Linked DNA regions of Homo sapiens: region 2 is linked to region 1. The links are contacts of gene promoters, found by promoter capture Hi-C in human tissues and cell types (Jung and others, 2019). All regions are on one chromosome and are shown on one strand. The core of a region is centred on a gene start or on the middle of the fragment in contact, and the rest is flanking DNA. Distances in the headings are between cores, read along the strand shown.

Region 1 (3,568 bases), core at 633-3,132:
GCGAGGGCGGAACTCATCACTCATGGCCCGCATGGCCTCCAGGATGGTCTCGTGCATGTTCTGGGCCACCACAGAGTCATCCACCTGCATCCAGAACTCCCCGGGCCCCGTCACGGCAGAACGGCCCACCTCGATGAAGAAGAAGTTTTCCGAGTGGCCACAGCGCCTGATGTTCATCAGCTGCAGCACCACGGCCGCTGCCTCCGAGTTCAGCTTCACGAAGCTGATGGTCTTGCTGGTCAGGCAAAGGCGGTAGATACCAATCAGGTTCTTTGTCTGACCCAGGCCCTTGGGCTTCAGGATCACTTGCCAGACCTCTTTGAATGCGGGTCCTGGGGGCACGTCACCGTAGCTCAAGTCCTCCCCAGCCTCACCAAGGCCGGAGCTGCCGCTGCAGCTGCCCCCACCACCTCCCGCCCCGAGGGCCGCAGCTCCGTCGTGGTGGCCCTTAGCACGGTTGTGCAGCTGTAGGAGAGCCTGGTACCAGCTGTCTTGCTCGGCCTCGCTGTCCGCCGCGATGGCAAAGTGCTCGTCCCGGGTGTAGAGAGCCACCAGGTGCTTGTTCTTGGAGTCAGCCCGCTTGTTGATGTTGAAGCAGCTCTCAAGGGGGATCGAGCGTTTGGGGGCGCTCGACTTGTGCCGCCACTTCTTCTCGTTCTCGTAGTACTCGAGGCGCGCCGGGCCCCCAGCCTCGCTGGCCGCGCGCAGTACGAAGAAGCGTTTGTGCATGCTCTTGGGTTTGCGCAGGTAGCCCACCTTGCGCACGTCCGAGAAGCCATCGCTCTCCGGAGGGCTCGCCATGCTGCCACCGCCACCACCAACGCTGAGCAGAGGGAGGCTCCGAAAAACAACCGGGTGGGGGGCGGAGGCTCCTCGCCGCGGCCCGGCACATGCAAACAGGGCTGGAGGCAGCAGAAACCCCGACTCTGAAATCCACGCCGCCCCCCGCGCCGGGGAGGGGCAGCTGAAGGAGGACGCAGCTGCTGAGCCCAGGAGAGAGCCCGACCGGAGTTTTCGGGCGCTTCACGCCCGGCGGGGAGGCAGTGCGTCCGGGGTGAGGGCAGCCCCGATCCTCCGAGAGCCAAGTCTCCTCTCAGCCGCCGCCGCCACCAGGAAGGAGCGAAGATGCATCTCTCGTCGCCCCGGCTGGAGTCCGGCACAGGGAGGCGACAGTCGGGGGTCCCTGCGGTGCCCCTCCAGGAGCGCGCGCGCGCGCGCGCCTTCCCTCCTGAGTTCCCCTCTGGAAGCAGCGATTCCCGAGGCAAATTAAATATCCTTGGGCAGGGGGAGGCGGGTTGCCAAGTCCCAACGTTGCACGGGGTTCTCCCTCCTCCTTCGCCTCCTCCCACCCCCCAACCGTCCCAGCCGCCACCAGCCGCCCAAATACCAGCTCAGTCGCAGAGACCGCGGCGCTGCGGCTGTTGCTGTTGCTGCTGCTGCTGCTGCTGCTGCTGCCGCCGCCCGCGGGCGCGTCCTCTGCAGCCCCCATCCGGGCCCATCTCGGCGGGTGGAGAAAGTGGCTTTTCCATGCGAAACGATACCGGGCAGCCACTGCAGCTGGGGACCGGCCGGAGGGACAGACTCATCCCTGCCCCTCGCTCCAGGCGGCTGGGGAGGAGGGGAGGGGACAAGGGCGAGAGGGGATGGGGGAGGTTTGGGAAGGGTTCGGGGAAGACGCCTGTTCCTCGGGAGGCGCTGCCGCTGCAGTTACTTCTCCCCTCCTCCCTCCTCCTCCTCCTCCTCGGAGAGTTGCCGAGAGCCCCAACCAAAACAAGCGGCGGCGTCTGGCTCTGCGCGCCGGCCCCCTCCGACCGCGCCGCCGTCTCACTCGGAGGAGAAAAACACGTGACGGAGCCTCCGCGCTCGGCAGCCGGGCAGCCGCCGCCGGGAGGCTCCCGCCCGGGTCTCTACATTCCGGGCCGAGCCCGCCCCGCGCCCGCCCCTCTCCGCCCCCCAGCCGTGCTGCAGCGGCGCCCGCGCCGACCCCGGCGCAGCGCTAGGACAGCGCCCCTGCGCGGCCGCCAGCTCCGGCGCAGCGCCTCCCTACACGCGCGCCAACCGGGGCGCCCCCGGCCCGCAGGAATCCCCGCGGCGGGCGCAGGCGGGGGTGTTTGGGTGGCTACCCGAAAGCACGAGGGGAGTCTGGGAAAACGGGAGGGGGCGAGCTCGGGAAGACGCAGGAGTGAGGGTGGGGGGCCACGGGGGGGCACTGCGGCTACAGAGCCCCGAGTGGGAGGCCGGGGGGAGGCGGGGGCGCCGGAGCTGGGCTGCCTCTTACCTATCAGGTAAGACTGACCCACGGGAGGGAGGTTTCTAGTCAAGGCTGTTTCCCCCAGGAAATTTAAAAGCTAGATTTCGGCTTCAGGGCGATAGGCCATGGTGAGGGGATCTGTATTTTTTAAGGTTTTTCTAAAGGACTTCTGGGCCAGCCTTCCACCTTGGGATCCCCAGATTTGCTGCCGTGAGGTACCTGGAAGGAACAGAGGGACGCCCAAGGGCAGTGACTGGGGGCAGTTATGGTCACTACAAAAGGAGAACAGGGATCCCCAGGAAGTGTCTCACGTCCGGCGCTGTGGAATTAGTTGCTGATCAAGTAGGGAGAAAATGTAAATATCACCTTTTCTCCTGCTCCCCTTGCCCATCCGTGTGACGGGGGGACTCACACCTAAGGCTGAGGGCATGGGGGAGGGGAAATGAGAGGTCCCTTATCATATTCCGAAGTCTATCCGTGACTTTAAAAAGCTGTTAGGGACCTTCAGAGGGTTCATAAGGCCAAAACCCTACTGTGCAAATATTGGCTGAAATGTTTGTTTCACACACAGCTCCCACACCCATTGAACCACCCTATAAGTTTTTAACCTTGACCACAAGGATAACAGGGAGAAAACAAGGATGGTGCCAGCTCAACTGTACAGGAAAATGGTTACTTCATGAGTGGACCAGATCAGCAGCCTGGGTCTACTTGAAGCGCCCCTTTCAGGGTCACCTTGCGGTATCAGTCTCCCCACAAACAAACGCTCCCCAGAGTTTTTTTATTTTTTAAGCCGACCTATAAACAAGCAGTTTGTCCCTGCTTGCTCGCCTGGCACTAAGGACCCACAGAGATGTCACTCGGTTTAATGCTGTCTCATTTTGATGCCTGGCCCGTTTGGGGTTGCCGCCCCTTTACTACGCCGGGACCCTCCTCGGCCTCAGGCTCCCAGGCACTGCAGGATGCTGGCTGGGCACTCAGCAGTCGAGGCGCTGGGCATGCTCAGTGGCTGGGACCCGGCGGGCCGCGGGGGAGCGCGCCTCGGCCCAATGCGGCTGAGGGGCGGAGCGAGTTTCCCGGGGAGGCCTGCTGATTGGTGGGATGGCCTGTTTTTCAAGCCTTGCACTGCAGAGGGAAGGTGGGGGTAGAAGGGTTGAGGGTACCAAGGTAGGTTGCAAAGCGTAGTAAAAAAAGAAAAAGAAGATGATGATGATGAAGGAGAAAAAGAACCATAGGCGCCATTCAGGGGTGTGCGATACGTAAATTAGGGGGATTGGGCATCTGCAGAGGGGCTCCTCCCCACCCAAGCCTGGGAGC
Region 2 (3,568 bases), core at 588-3,087, 550 kb before region 1:
GTCCTTTCCCTGGCCTTGCTGGCTACCGCAAATGCATGCACCAATTTCATTCAGCTGAAGACAGAGGGGGGAATCCTTGGCAGGTCTTTGTAGCTCATTTTCCCTTCATGCAACTTTCTGTTCACCATTACTCTGTCATGGGAACTCTAGCTCCTTGTCCTCTCCTACCTTTCGATGCTGTCTCCAAAATGCAGGTAACCAATAGGTTTTTCTTGCACTCCCCTCCCTGGAAAATCTCAAGGCAGTACTGGGGCAGTTGCAGGACCTAGCTTGCTTACTTTATCTTTCTCTAATGTTACAGAACTTCATTGCCTGTATTCCAATATCTGAATACTTACATTATATATATATATATATATATTTAAGTTTTTTCCTAAACAACTAAAAATGTGCTTAATACTGGTGGATAAAACTGGTCTCTTTTACTTTTGCTATAAGAAGTACAGATGTTGACTTTAAAAATACCTTGCTGCATTCTGCAGAATCTATAATGTAGAAACTAAGGAGCTTTAACAATTGATTTCACACACCATTGCTGTGTAAAGAAAGCCACACACAAAAATTAGTTTCTTTTCTTAAAAACTTTTTGCACTGTCAAAAAATTTAGTAACCAAAAAACATTTGATTTAGTAAGTCTGTAAACATTCTTCATATTAAATGTCTGTTTGGATTTTCAGAGAATCTTTGGGTCCCCAGGCTTGAAATTTAAAAATGAGATTATGTGACTATTTGCAATTCAAATAAAATAATATTACTTACAGGAACAAAGTCTGAAATCATCTGAATTTAAGAAATTAAATGTAATCTTTTATGAGTGTAAGGCAATAAAATGATAGAATACAATTAGCTCAAATTTAAATACAAATATCATCTCTGCCTGCAAATCATTTACATATATGTCAATTTTTTTATGTGTACTCCCAAAAGATTCAGCATACACAATCAAGATAAGTCATTTAGGAGATGTTGGAAAACATACAGATGGACAAGTGTTTTTCTGGTACATTTCCTCACCTTTTGGTTAGTAGTTTTCAGAAAAACTGCTATATTAGGTTTGTCCACAGGGTGATTATGGAGTCTCATAAATTTTGTTTAGGGGGTTTTTAGTTGAGTTGTTCTGAGAAAAATTTGAGATGAATAAGTGAAGCCAAGCTCTGGAGAGGAAAAAAAGGCAATTTTATCCAAATCTGGCACATTCTGAAGGTGGCTTGGGTTGAAAGTGAATCTAGCATATGTATTTGGCTATGAGATGCTTCATGTCAACCTTTCCTTGCTCACACACAAACTTCTTTGATCTATCCTGAAAAGTCTGTTTATGCCAACATCCCATATTGCTATATATAAAGTTTTGCAGGAACTTCTGGTGAAAACATTACTCTAAATACAGTGGGTGCTGTGTTTACCTAGACATAGATATGTGAATTATGTTTGATGATTCAGTAGTAGGCAACATACCAGGTTCAGAACTAGATCAGAACAATCGTAAATTAGCTGTGCCCTATAAGCAAACAGAATGAATAAGTGAAAAATATCTATTAAAAAATTACTTACAAAACCAGAGGCCAACTTGGGAATCATACTATTGCAAAGAGCATTTATTTCAACTCAGAGAATTAAGAGCTGTGAGAACTACAAGAAATGCATTATGATAGTGAACCCTAGTTAATAATGTCATTCATAGCAGCCAAGGTTGACAAACAGAAGTTTGCCCTCAAGAAGTATTTGATAATATGTCTTCTGTGTTTTCCTGTTTCCTGGCTAGAACTGGATATTCAATATGACTAATGCTTCTTTCATTAAAAAAGAAAAAAGACAGACTTCGAAATATTTACTCACTTCTTCAAGAATGTAGAAAACACTTAATGATAACATTTCTGTTAGCTGCGGTGGCAGAATTATGTATTTACATCTAACACTTTTTTTCTGTATAACAGGGATTACTTAATTACAGAGTACTCATATCCAAGGAAATTAAAGTTATTTTAAAATCTGAAGAACATTTTGAAATTAAAGTTGTATTTACTGTTTCTGAAACATATATTAAATGTCAGAATTACCAACTTTTTAAGAATTGCATGTCTCATACACAATTTATATGTGTGTGTACGGATGTGTGTGTATAGTAATTTTACCTTTAAAAATGTAATGAACATATAACTTACAAGGCAAATTTTAAAAGACAGTGAACTGTTTAGTTCAAACAACTTAAGATCTGTTATGGCTATAATTACAACAGTGGAAAATTGGCAGTCTTTAAACTATGAACCTAACGTGAGTTGGTATAAATAATTACATGTTTATATAGCCCAATTGAACAAGGCTACTCTGGCAAAAGCCATTTCAAAATACAAAATTAAAAATTGAAACTATAAGTATACTCAAGCAACTATAGTAATTAAAATCCATGTTAATTACAAATGATCCAGAAATATTCTTGAAGAACAAACCTGTTGGACAACTACATGCCAATATATTTTTAGACATATATGGAGATAGTATTTGAAATCACAAGCATGTTTATAAGTCCTGGCTACTCTCTAAGTTTATGAGATTATACGGTATTATGGTCTATTATTATATTACAATATGTGCTAGTTAATTTTTATGTTACCATATGGATGTACTTTTTGTAGTGCTATAGAATTTACCAACCAGTTCCACATACATTTTCTTATTCAATTCCCTTAACAAGTCCACAAGCCAGCTTTTAACTTAGTTATTATTATGCCCTTTTCCAGTTGAGGAAACCTGAGCCTCTGAGGGGCTATGCATGCCTGACACAGATTGTTGGGTTACAAGTGGCAGAGGTTTGCTAGAATTCAGTCATCTAAACCTATTATTTAATTAATAAAATATTTCAGACAAAGTACATAATTATATTGTATGGTTTTTATTGTCTAAAAACAGTGTTTGTGAACTGAATAGTAAAGAGGAAAGATCCTGCTTTACGAGCAGTTTTAATGAAGGCCCTGTTAGAAGGAATTTATTCATAATTTTCTGGTTGTATTCATCATAACACAATCTGAAAACTGATCTGAATTATAAAACAAGCTTCTATTTTGTATGTGTTATGTATTTTTTGTTAAAAAATGTGCTGTTAAAAGTCAGACATTGCTTTTAATTTAGGTGTAAAGAAACAAAAATATCAATGGACAACCTCAGAAATAATCTAGAGTATTTTTTAAATGATGCCACTTTATATTCTGACACATCCAGCAGAAAAAGCGAAATGATTTGGGTTAAACAATTAGACGTGCCCTTTGTTTCCTTCTTTGAGCTTTACCTATTGAATTTGCCTGTGTTTTATGTACATACAACTCTAGACACGTGCTAAGACACAACCTTCTGACACTTTGCCAGAAACATGCAAATTAAAAACCTGAAATCTAATATGCAATAAATCGAAAATAAATGTGTCAGGGGATTTAGCACAGGCAGCTCATAAGGGGACACCTTCTTTTCTTAATCTATAAAAGGCAAATGTCACGGTTGAGGCATCTGCCAAACTGCCATGGAGAATGTATTCACTGCATTTGCTAAGCCAGGGGTACCAGGGCTGTCAGCAGAG

Evidence for each region. The method cuts DNA at HindIII sites, captures the fragments that hold promoters and counts their contacts. A contact is called where the count stands out against the background at its distance.
Region 2: a fragment that was not itself captured here is called in contact with the fragment with the promoter of IRS1 in region 1 in 1 of the 25 tissues and cell types used here (heart left ventricle).

What each region holds. Positions count from the first base shown.
Region 1 is chr2:226,797,938-226,801,505 of GRCh38, forward strand. It overlaps IRS1 (insulin receptor substrate 1), which reads right to left and starts at 1,883. Exons shown (of 2, transcript NM_005544.3): 1 at 1-1,883. The coding sequence starts at 801. It also overlaps a transcript of RHBDD1 not described here. RefSeq lists silencers at 702-751, 1,742-2,161, 2,182-2,251, 3,212-3,421. The HindIII fragment of the contact is 12,102 bases long and covers 1-3,568 here.
Region 2 is chr2:226,246,380-226,249,947 of GRCh38, forward strand. No RefSeq gene overlaps it. Among named protein-coding and RNA genes, the nearest start is that of MIR5702, 410 kb to the right of the region's middle. The HindIII fragment of the contact is 5,391 bases long and covers 1-3,568 here.